Linked DNA regions of Homo sapiens: region 1 is linked to region 2. Evidence: promoter capture Hi-C in human tissues and cell types (Jung and others, 2019). All regions are on one chromosome and are shown on one strand. Each heading gives the region's core, a stretch centred on a gene start or on the middle of the fragment in contact. The rest is flanking DNA. Distances are from core to core; before and after follow the strand shown.

The links. Contacts are between HindIII fragments. The study calls those that stand out against the background at their distance.
Region 1: a contact is called between a fragment that was not itself captured here and the fragment with the promoter of ATP13A5 in region 2, in 1 of the 25 tissues and cell types used here (heart right ventricle).

The regions. Positions count from the first base shown.
Region 1 is chr3:193,314,486-193,318,878 of GRCh38, reverse strand. It overlaps ATP13A5 (ATPase 13A5), which reads left to right. Exons shown (of 30, transcript NM_198505.4): 18 at 3,783-3,907. ATP13A5-AS1 (ATP13A5 antisense RNA 1) reads right to left here. Exons shown (of 2, transcript NR_046758.1): 2 at 4,358-4,393. Among named protein-coding and RNA genes, the nearest start is that of ATP13A5-AS1, 9.4 kb to the right of the region's middle. The HindIII fragment of the contact is 3,272 bases long and covers 1,289-4,393 here.
Region 2 is chr3:193,376,872-193,383,009 of GRCh38, reverse strand. ATP13A5 (ATPase 13A5) reads left to right here and starts at 4,257. Exons shown (of 30, transcript NM_198505.4): 1 at 4,257-4,347. The coding sequence starts at 4,285. The HindIII fragment of the contact is 10,323 bases long and covers 1-6,138 here.

The DNA of each region.
Region 1 (4,393 bases), core at 1,675-4,174, 63 kb after region 2:
ATTAATCTTGTACAGTCCCCTGACTCAGAGATGGATAATTGTAGGTGATACTGGAGATGACTTGCTCAAGTCACAATGCTGGTTGGTGGCAGAACAAGGATGGTACTTGAGAGCTTCTGACTCCAAGATACCAGTGTGTTATCTCTGCTTGGCACTATGTTATGTCAACTTTAGTCGCAGCTCTCATCCCATCAAAACAACCAACGCTCCTTCAACCTCAGAGCATTATGTGACCAATCAACTTGGGTGGCCCATACACAGAGAGGTTGAGAGAGGGAGACAGTTGGCACTTTGAAAGATTTTGAGAATACTTTAGACGTGGTTTTTTCAGTGCTCAATACTACAACATCTCCTTCGTATCTGTGAAGGTAACAAGGGCAAATTGAATTACTTATGAGAAATAAAATTCAGTATTCTTAATTACATTACAGGGATAAGTTGTCCTCATTAGAGGATAATTTATAAATTATTATTTCTTTCAACGTTCTTCAGTTTTTAAAGGCTATTTTCAAATTATCTATGACAAAGGAGTAAAAAAATACTGTGGAAAACTGAATAGCAGAAAATCTATTTATTTCTTACATTGGATTTGTGTTGCTGATAAATGCTAATTTATATACAGCTAGCTCCTTCATGTAAAATAGTGATATCCTTGGTTTAACATTATTATTTGCAACCTAAGTCCATTGACTCTAAGTTAATTAGTAAACACAGTCCCTTCCTTACTCTGTGCTTGTTTCACCATCTATAAAATATGCAATTGGATGATCTCCAAGAAGGCCTTCAGCCATGACATTTTAATACTTGAAACAGGATCACAAAGCTTATTTTGAAATATATGAATGTCATTCTCAGATTTAACATTCCAGGTGTTAGCTATTCTTGAGCAAACATAAAGGTCCAGACCACATAGGATTTGTAATTTTCTAAACACAAATTTGAATAATCAACGTTAAGGACATGTGTGAAGAAAAGATCTATGTAGCTAGTGATGGAGTGTAGCCATCATCCAGCTGTCACATACAAACGCAGCTGTGTTGTTCTCATGTAAGAGCCACTAGTGGGATAGACATTATAAATATAACAAAATAAGAAAATGAAGATAAAATGTGCTATATTTCCAACCATTCCAGGTTTTTTTGGGGAATATCAGGAACTTATTATACTTCTTAGAATTTAGTTACTATTTTCAAACAGGGTAAAAGGATAGGGTTTTGGTTTTTCTTAGAATCAAATTCTATTTAGCAAAGTTTTCCAACTAGAAAAATTTAAAACTTCTTAAAAATTGGAGTCATAATGGGGAAGTAGAAAAGTTTTTTGAGATGACGTAAAAAGTCACCCCAAACTAAAACAGCAGGATAAATACTCCATCAAGGCTCACCCCTTCACCAGTTTAGCAAATCTGTATTGAACTTAACTGTATGTCAGACGCTCAAGGAATTGAGAACTTATTTGGAAGTGAATAAAATAAAATCCTTGTCCTCATGAATATATCCTAGTTGGGGAAATAGATTAGAAAATAAACCCATAAAATATTATCCCACTAGTGGTTCTTAAATGACCTGAGGGGGAAAATATAAAGTAAGTTAAGAGGACTTTTTAAAAAAGACAGAGAATGTCATTTTGCCTAGGCAATCAGCAAAGTCCTCAGAGGAGCAACATTTTAACAGACATTTAATAAAATAAGAGAGAAAGACACGCAGATATCCAGAGGAAGAGCATTGCAGGGAATAGAAATGGTGGGTACAAAAGCTTTGACACAAGCACTGCTGGGAGTGTTGTAGGGTAACAAGCAGCCAAGTGCCTAAAGTAGTGAACGAGAAGAAGCATCATAAAATAGAAACAAAGAACATTTGCCTGTTTTTGCTTTTGTTGCCTGTGCTTTATGTGTCATAGCCATGAAATCATTGCCAAGACCAATATCAAGAAGATTTCTCCCTATGTTTTCCTCTAGTAGTTTCACGGTTTCAGGTCTTATGTTTAAGTGTTTAATCCATTTTGAGTTGATTTTTACGTATGGTATAAGATAAGGGTCCAATTTCATTCTTTTGCTGGTGGATATTAAACTGAAAAGTTTTGCACAGCAAAGGAAATAACAGAGTGAAATAGCAACCTATAAAATGGCAGAAAATCTCTGCAAACCATATATCTGATAAGACATTAACATCCAAAATGTACAGAGGACACAATTCAATAGGAAAAATCAATAAATAATCCAATTTAAAAATGAACAAAGGCCCTGAATAGACATTTCTCCAAAGACGTACAAATGACCAACAGATATATGAAAAAGTGCTCAACTTTACTAGTCATTAGGGAAATGCAAATCAAAACCACAATGAAATACCACCTCATACCTGTAAGGATGGCTATTTGAAACAAAAACAAAAGAACAAGTTGACAAGGATATAGAGAAATTAGAACCTTTGTAAAATGGTACAGCTGCTATGGAAAACAATGTGGAGGTTCTTTAAAAAATTAAAAATAGAATGTTTTTAATTTTTTAAAACATTGGATCACCAGGTGATCCAATGGTCCAAAATCCCACTTCTGAGTATATATCCAAAAGAACTGACATTGGGATCTCAAAAAAAGGTATCTTCACCTTTATGTTCATTGCAGCATTATTTATAATAGTCAAGATATGGAAACAACCTAAATGTTCATCATTGGATGAATGGATTTTAAAAATGTAATATGTACATATAATGGAATATTATTAAGCCTTAGAAAAGGAGAAAATCTTGCCATATGAGACAACATGAATGAAACTGAAAGACATCATGCTAAGTGAAATAAACCAGTCACAGAAGGCCTAATACTGTGTGATCCTACTTATCTGAAGCATCTGAAATAGACATATTCATAGAAGTAGAGAGTAGAGACTAGAATTGTGATTACCAAGGGCTAGGGGGAGGGGGAAATAGGAAGTTGTTGTTAATGGATATAAAGTTTCAGTTATGCAAGATGAATACATTCTAGAGAAGTGATTTTAACACACACACACACATAAAACAGGGTAGAAGGAAACTTTTTGAGGTGATGGATATGTTTATTACCTGGATTATGGTAATGGCTTCACAGCTGCATGCATATTGTTCAGATCTATCTCCCTGTAATCTTAACACCACGGTGCACAGCAAAATGAACAAAGATCAAAAAAGAGTTCTTGGCCCCCAAATTTACTTTTTAAAAAGCCACCCAAGAGTGATTCCATTTCAGAGGAACGTTCCTACATAACTAATGCAACCCAGTTGGACTATAAGCCATCACTTTCAAATTCCGAAAACTGTTCAGAGCCCTGTCTGATGCCAGTAAATATTATTCAAGGCGACAGATGGAAACTAAGATGAATGACACTGTATTCAACTACTACTATCGTGTCTTGTATGTATGCAGAATGCCCTTAATAAATGCCAAATAAACTGAAACGATTGCAAGCTCAAAAAAGACAAAGCACTGAGAAATTAAAAAATAAAGTATATTTGATTAACATATTTAAAAACCAACAGAAGAGTTGGAAGATAAGCACATTGTTTTTAAAAATAAAGTTGGAAACTGGAAAAAACAGATTTAGAAGTGGTTGCCTCTAGGAAGGAGAGGGGTGAGGTGGTGTGGAGACAGACTACTGGTTTTCATTATAAGCTTTTAAGTTCATTTTGATTTTTAAAATGTGCCTGTATTGCATTAATAAAACTTATAAATTTTTAAAAGAAGAAATAAATTGAACTATGGAGCCTACGTAGATATACTTTAATATTGATTTTCTCCTGAATACAAAGAGAAAAAGTGGAGTCAGAGTTAACATTTCTGGGACTTCTCATCATGGAGAATCGCTTGAAAAAAGAAACCAAACTGGTCTTGAAGGAACTGAGTGAGGCCCGTATCAGGACTGTGATGATTACAGGTATGTATTTGTTTCTAGGGGCCTGGCAAGTTGATTGTATCCTAGGCATAAGAACAAGATGTGTGAGCTGAGTGAGTTCATGTATCAGAGACAGGGAAAAATGTTCTGTTGTCGAATTTGTTACCCTGTAGTCCCTTACCTAAAAACATGTGCAGCTGCCCCGACAGGACCAGAAGCTTTGAAGGTAGGGACCGTATCTCATCCTCTTTGTCTAATGACTACCCCTCCCAGCCAGGATCTGTGCGGTGCCTCAAGGCTCACAGTAAATGAGCAAGAATGGGTGTGTTCTCATCAAGAAACCCAGTGATCCCTCTGCATAGAGGATTGAGTCTCTGGTTGATGGTCCTCTAGGGCAGTAGGGCCAGGCATGGTGTATGATCGTCAAACCCAAGCACAGCCTGACCCTGTGTGTTCTTTGCTTAGTTAGTTTCCAGATCCCGTGGATGGTTTAAGCTATCAGGCTGAGATCATGCTATATTCTCCACT
Region 2 (6,138 bases), core at 3,008-5,507:
ACAAGTCGTGTATCAAAATTCAAGTATTTTCTTAACCTTTGTGGTTCTTGCAAAGAGCTTCTGGCATTGTCACTCAGTCAGGTATCACAGGCCACTCCATACCCTGTTACCAGATGTAGAACCTCTCAGATTTCCACAGATGCTCTTTATTTCTGCAGTCATGCAGGCCTTCATCACTTCTGCCATGTGTGGCAGTCACCTCTGCTTGATTTTGTTCTCTCACCAGACTCACCAGGGTCCCTTGAGATCTAGGCTGATCTATCTTCACCCGTCTCTCAGATGATCATTGGGGCTGTGTGGCTAGGTAACCCCAAACCCACTTTCTATTCTTCCTGCCACACTGGTGGACCACACTCCTAGTCAACTTTGCAAGTAGATGTGGTCACCTAACTGAGTTCTAATCAATCTTCTAGCGTAAGTTCAGAGTAACTCTTCCAGGATGAGTCCATGGAAACTTTTATTTACTATCCTCCATGAAGTCCCCCTTTTATATAATCAAGGCAGCCTTGGAAGCCACGTGTTGAAAATCGTGGAGCCACAGATGGAAGGAGCCTGGATCTCCAAGATAGAATGTTCCAGTAGGACTCCATTTAATGGGTGGAGAAAAATATCAAGAGAGCTTGAAAATCTAGAGAAGACATCCAACTCTGGATAAGTTTCCCCCTTACTTCATGGGAAAATAGGGGATGAGAATCTTGTCTCTGCCAAATAGGAGGGTGAGGTATGGTTCTAACCAACCTCACCACGTCCATTGTGTCTTCGTCGAATAAGCCTCGTGGACTAGAGGTGGTGACACGCCCTCTCTCCCTAATCCATGTCATCCCCATGTCCCTCACCTCTCTAGCATTCAGAGCAGAGTTCTAGAGAAAATACAGCAGCAGAGCAGGTAGCCTTTCTTGGTGGAAATACGCTGGACTGTGAGGCAGGGAACCGGGCTTGAGCCCTGGATCTGCTGTTATCTCACTGTGCCTCTTTAAGCAAAATTTGCCCATCTTTTTGTTTTCTGGAAATTGTGTTCCAGGTCAGGGATTGTGGAAGAAGATGAAACACTCTCTCAGTCATTTACTTCCTCTGGCTTCACTCTGATAGGAAAGCTGTTCAGCAGTCTATGACTTTGCTTCTTGAGGGATGATCAGTTCTTCAGGCCCCTGTGTGAAGTGGACATTTTACTCTTTGTTCCTTTCTGAGTCTTTCATTGGTCTCTTCCCTCCCTTCTTGTCTCTGAAGGCCCCTGCTCTTATGCTGTATGGTGCTGACAGCTTCCTTCTTATTAGGACAGAGTTTGCCTTTGTGGTTCATCAGGATGCAGTTTTGCTTCTAGTCATAGGCAACAGGGAATCTGACCTCTTCAGATGGAAAAGATCTAAAGAATTCCAGCTTAAGTTATGACCTCCTGAACTCTATGGCTAGAAATACTAGTGTGATCCGGAAGAGGCCACTGCCACCATTCCTGAGGCTGCTTCTCCCAGAAGAGATGCCCTCAACCCTCCAGCACGTGTATAAACATAAAAGGTGACTCTTCCACCCATGTGCCTACAAGGGACTGGCTAAGCCATTGAGGCATGACTGGATCTTCACGTTGCTTATGGGGGTCTGGCATTAGGTCCTATAAGCTATAATGTCTGTTGCAGACCTTCCAGGAGGCAGGGTTTAATGCCATGTGATTACTTTCTTCACAGAGCTTGTCCTCTGGTGGCTAAAGCAATGCTCAGTACTTAAAGACCCTCGAGATTATCTAATACAAACTTTGCCCTGATGAATCCATCATATGGTAAATGGGCCCAATGTCAGCATTCACATCTCTGGGACCTGGAAGCTCAGTGCCTCCAAGACATTTATGAGCATTGGGATTATTCAAAGACTTTAATTTGAAGTGGGTATTTTGTACTTGTACAGGGCAAAGAGTGTTGGTTCCTCAGTGGGAAGGAGCTGAGGCCTTGGGTCTTGGCCGGTGGACAGACAAGAGTCCAGCTCGCCATGGTTGACAAGCTCTTCTTGAGCACACCTTTGTTTGCATCTCCATCATAATTATTACTCATCACTTCCCATCTTTCTAGTCTCAAGTCTTACTTTTATTCCCCTTAATGCCCCGAATAGGTGCTCCTTTCCCACCTCGCTTGACCCTTTCCACACCTTCTGCTCCCAGCCTAGACTGTGCTCACCAGATGCCACTATCCCCCATTCTTTCTATCTGTTAACTTCTGCTTATCTTTGAGATGTCAGAATAAATGTCACTTCCTTTGGGAACCTGTTTGTATTCCATTAAATCTGAGTTTAGTATATTTCCCAATTAAGAGGCTGCTTAGTTATCTGTCATTCCCAAGTAACTATAAACTCTCTCAGGATAGGGGCTCTTTCCTTTACACCATTGTATTCGAGGGCCTAGCACAATGTCTGGAACATCTGTTTTCCAGTACATAATTGTTGAGTAAAAGTGGAATGGAGTCAAGACCAGTGCTATGTATATCTTTGGACTATATGTAACAGAAAACCCAAGCAAGAGTGGCTTTATGAGAATGTTTAATTGTGTATTTAATGTGGTGTTTAGGGGTAGGTAGGTCCATGAATCAGTGGTGTTATAGGCATATAACTTCTTTTGTCCTTTTCTCACCGTAATTTTCATGGTGATTTGCATCCTCCTCACCACCTAAAGATGGCTACCATGCTCCAAGCATTGCATTTTCATGGATCACTTTCAAAGAAAGGCAGAAAGGGGAAGACAGAAAAAAATGTTCTTCTCTCTGTTTCATCAACAAGATAACCTTTCCCACAAGACCATGTCTTTCTCTTCTATTTCATTGTTTAGAACTGGGCCACACGCCGACCCATAGACAAATCATTGACTCATCTTGGTGCTTTTAGCTGAAGTCATGCTGCACAAAGTTGGGGTTCTTTCAGCAAGAAATACAAGTAAATAGCGGATGGGTAAGAAGTGAATGATAGCCACCACTCGTGTCTTTAATGAAGTTTTACTAAAATCCAGAACTCCTTTCTTCAAATATGCATTTTACCTTAGATTGGTACTACTTACAAGGCAACATTCACACCGGCACATTATACTTCAGTATGGGTACCTCGGGAGCCTCTGGCATGAAGAGCTCTAGTTGTCTTCCTGTTTATTCTCATCAGCCACTTTCTCCTGGCCAGAGAGCACGTTGATCTCTCCTGAACACCAAGTTGGACACTTATGCCTGCTCAAGGCAATCAGTGTCTATTTCAGTCAGCAGAAACAGCCAAGTATCATCCCTAATAGTTTTCATTCCCAGCAAATTTTCTTCCATAGTCAAAGTGCAAGGATACAATAAGAGCCAATAAAATGACAAAAGTTTTCATCACAAACAAATTAACTGACTCTGGAATGGATCACAGTATACCTATTTTCTAATCAAAATATCAAATTCAGTGGTGTTGAAATTTGGGCTATATCCTTAATCCTCGGACTTTCTAGCATCTCTTCCCTCCACATACTTTGCTCATTTGAAAACTTTTGTAAACTCTAAAGAGAAAATGAAAAGAATCAAGTTATTAATATAGTTTACTTTTTAAAGCCTCTTTCTTCTTGGTTAGTGTAATGATTATGATGATGATTATTTCTCTCTTAGTGACTGTGGTGGGTGCTATCGTTGGCTTTTTATGACTATCATCTTAAATCTTTATATTACTGTATAGTTATTATTGACATTTTATGTACTAGAAACTGAAATTCCAGATTTTAAGTGATTTGTCCAGGGTCTTCAGTGAAGCACGGATTAGAACTCAGATTTTTCTAATTCCAAAATGATTCCTACATTCTCTATCATGAGCCTACCTCCCTTCCTTCAATTCTCATTGTCACCCCCAATATGTTCATTACTTTTTCAAAGTCTGCAGGGTTTTTATACATCTCTCACTGGCTAATCCTTTTATCTTAGGTTTTTAGCAAAGTGACTATTCTCATTCCTTGGCTGAGACATTTATGGATCGCATACAAAATGATTTCTCCTTCTAGTTTGCCAACTTCTTCCCCCGTCATTCCTCAGGTCTTGAGGCACTCATATCTAGCTCAATAAACAAACACTAGGAAAAAAACCCACAATAACCAGATTAACAGACCAATCCTGTTCCTGAGAAGATTTTCTCTCTTTCCTTTGTTAGTCTAATAGGCAAGGTGTGTACTAAGAGATTTTAAAAGCGCCTGGGAAGAGCAATCACAAGTTGTGACGATTCCAAGTTCACAGAAGCCCAAGGGATTTTGACATTTCTCCAAGGAGTTAGCCAGAAGAGATCCTCGCCGGTTGAGTTCAGATGGAAGAGAACAGTAAGAAGGACCATCGGGCTTTGCTCAACCAGGGAGAGGAGGATGAACTGGTGAGTCTTCCCTTTATTTTATTAGTCTTCTCAAAGAGCCCAAGGCGGTGAGTATGGGCTACAGCTGAATTAGAAAATAGAGTGTAGCATTTATGCTTCAGGCTTTAGGACCTTGAAAGGTTTCAGTCTGGTAAGGTTCCTTAAGGGCTGCAAAGCACCATTTTATTGTGGGGAAACCTGCAGGGGCTGAGAAACTTGTGACCTCTGGATGATAGAATTCTTGCCATCTTCATATGAACCTGTGATGTTTCCTCGCACATTTACAGTATTTGCAGAGCCCCGCATGGTGCTCAGTGGGGTGTCTCCCCCTTATTATCTGGATTGCTATGTGATGGAACAAACTCTATTGAAAACAAGAACTCTTTTTTATTCTCGTGCTTTGGGTATGTATGCATAACCTAGGCTTAGGGGGCTCTGGGCTGAAGTCATGCTTTTTATAAGCGCAGAGAGAAGTTTTAAGCATCAATTACTAAAGAAGGAGTAGAATGTGGCCTGGGATTTTTAACACATATTTTAAACATTTCTCATGTCTCCAATTTTTTCCCCACTCTTGTTTTCATCAAACACACACACACACACACACACACATTTAAAAATAATAATTAAAAAGTTGAAAACTATAGTGTTTATTTGGTGCTGAGGTGTTTATATTTATGATTTTATATAATCCTCAGACCTCAGTGATGAAAGAACTAATCCTATTTAATTGAAAAGAAATCTGAGACCAGGGAGGTTAAATAACTTGCCCAAGGTCATTAGCCTGCAAGGGACAGGCTGGGAATCCAGCCGACTCCTTCTCCACATCCTGTGCTGTTCACCATACAACAGTGGCTCCAGCTAGACAATGAAGAAAGGAGACAGAGACAGACAGGGGAAGGGTCAGAGTGAGGGCACATTTGGGGGCCCCAAAGAACTTGGAGAACATGGTTTGTAGATTAGAATGATGTCAGTTTCCTGGCTGGCATCCTGGTTCCCTGTGAGATCTGGGGCAAATCCATACCGGCTCTCCCTCCACCTATCCCTGTTTGCTACTCTAAGGAAAACATATGATTTCATCTACATCTATGTTGTTCAATAAGGCAGCCATGGGCCACGTGTAGTTTCTGAGCACTAGAAAAGTAGCTAGTCCACACAAAATATGCTTTATGTGTAAAATACGCACCAGATTTTGAAGAATTTAGTAAAAAAAAGTAAAACATCTTATTAATAATTTTTATATTGTTTACACATTGAAATGACAATATTTTAGATAGCTTAGGTAAAAATTTCACCTGCTTCTCTTTACATCTTTAATGTGGCTGCTAGGAACGTTAATATTAAGAAGGCAGCTCATATTTGTGGCTTGCATTATTGTAGCACGCTAAGCTTGACAATAGCACAGCACTTTAAAATCTTCAGAATTAAAGCTTTTAAAGAATGAAAATCTATTCACCTGTGTTCACTGCTGAACAATTCTGTTAGCTCTGATGTTTTCAACATGTAGATAAGAGTGCATGAAAAATTACATTGCTCTTTATTCTTCTCTAACTAGTTGCTTTATTTGTAAAGTTTATAGCCTGATACTTTAATTCTCTCACTCACAAACAGGACATTGGTATCATAGGATTAAATAATGAGCCAGGTGCCCCAGTTTTCTTCATTTTTGCAGGTGATCAAACCCTTTTACAGACACTCACCAGAAATGTCTATTAGGAATCCAAGTAAGCTTAACTCATTGTGGGGAAGGGGAGATGGCTCTAGATTTCTTTTTCAGAATTCTGGGGCGTAGAGCACAGATGCAAATCCTATTCT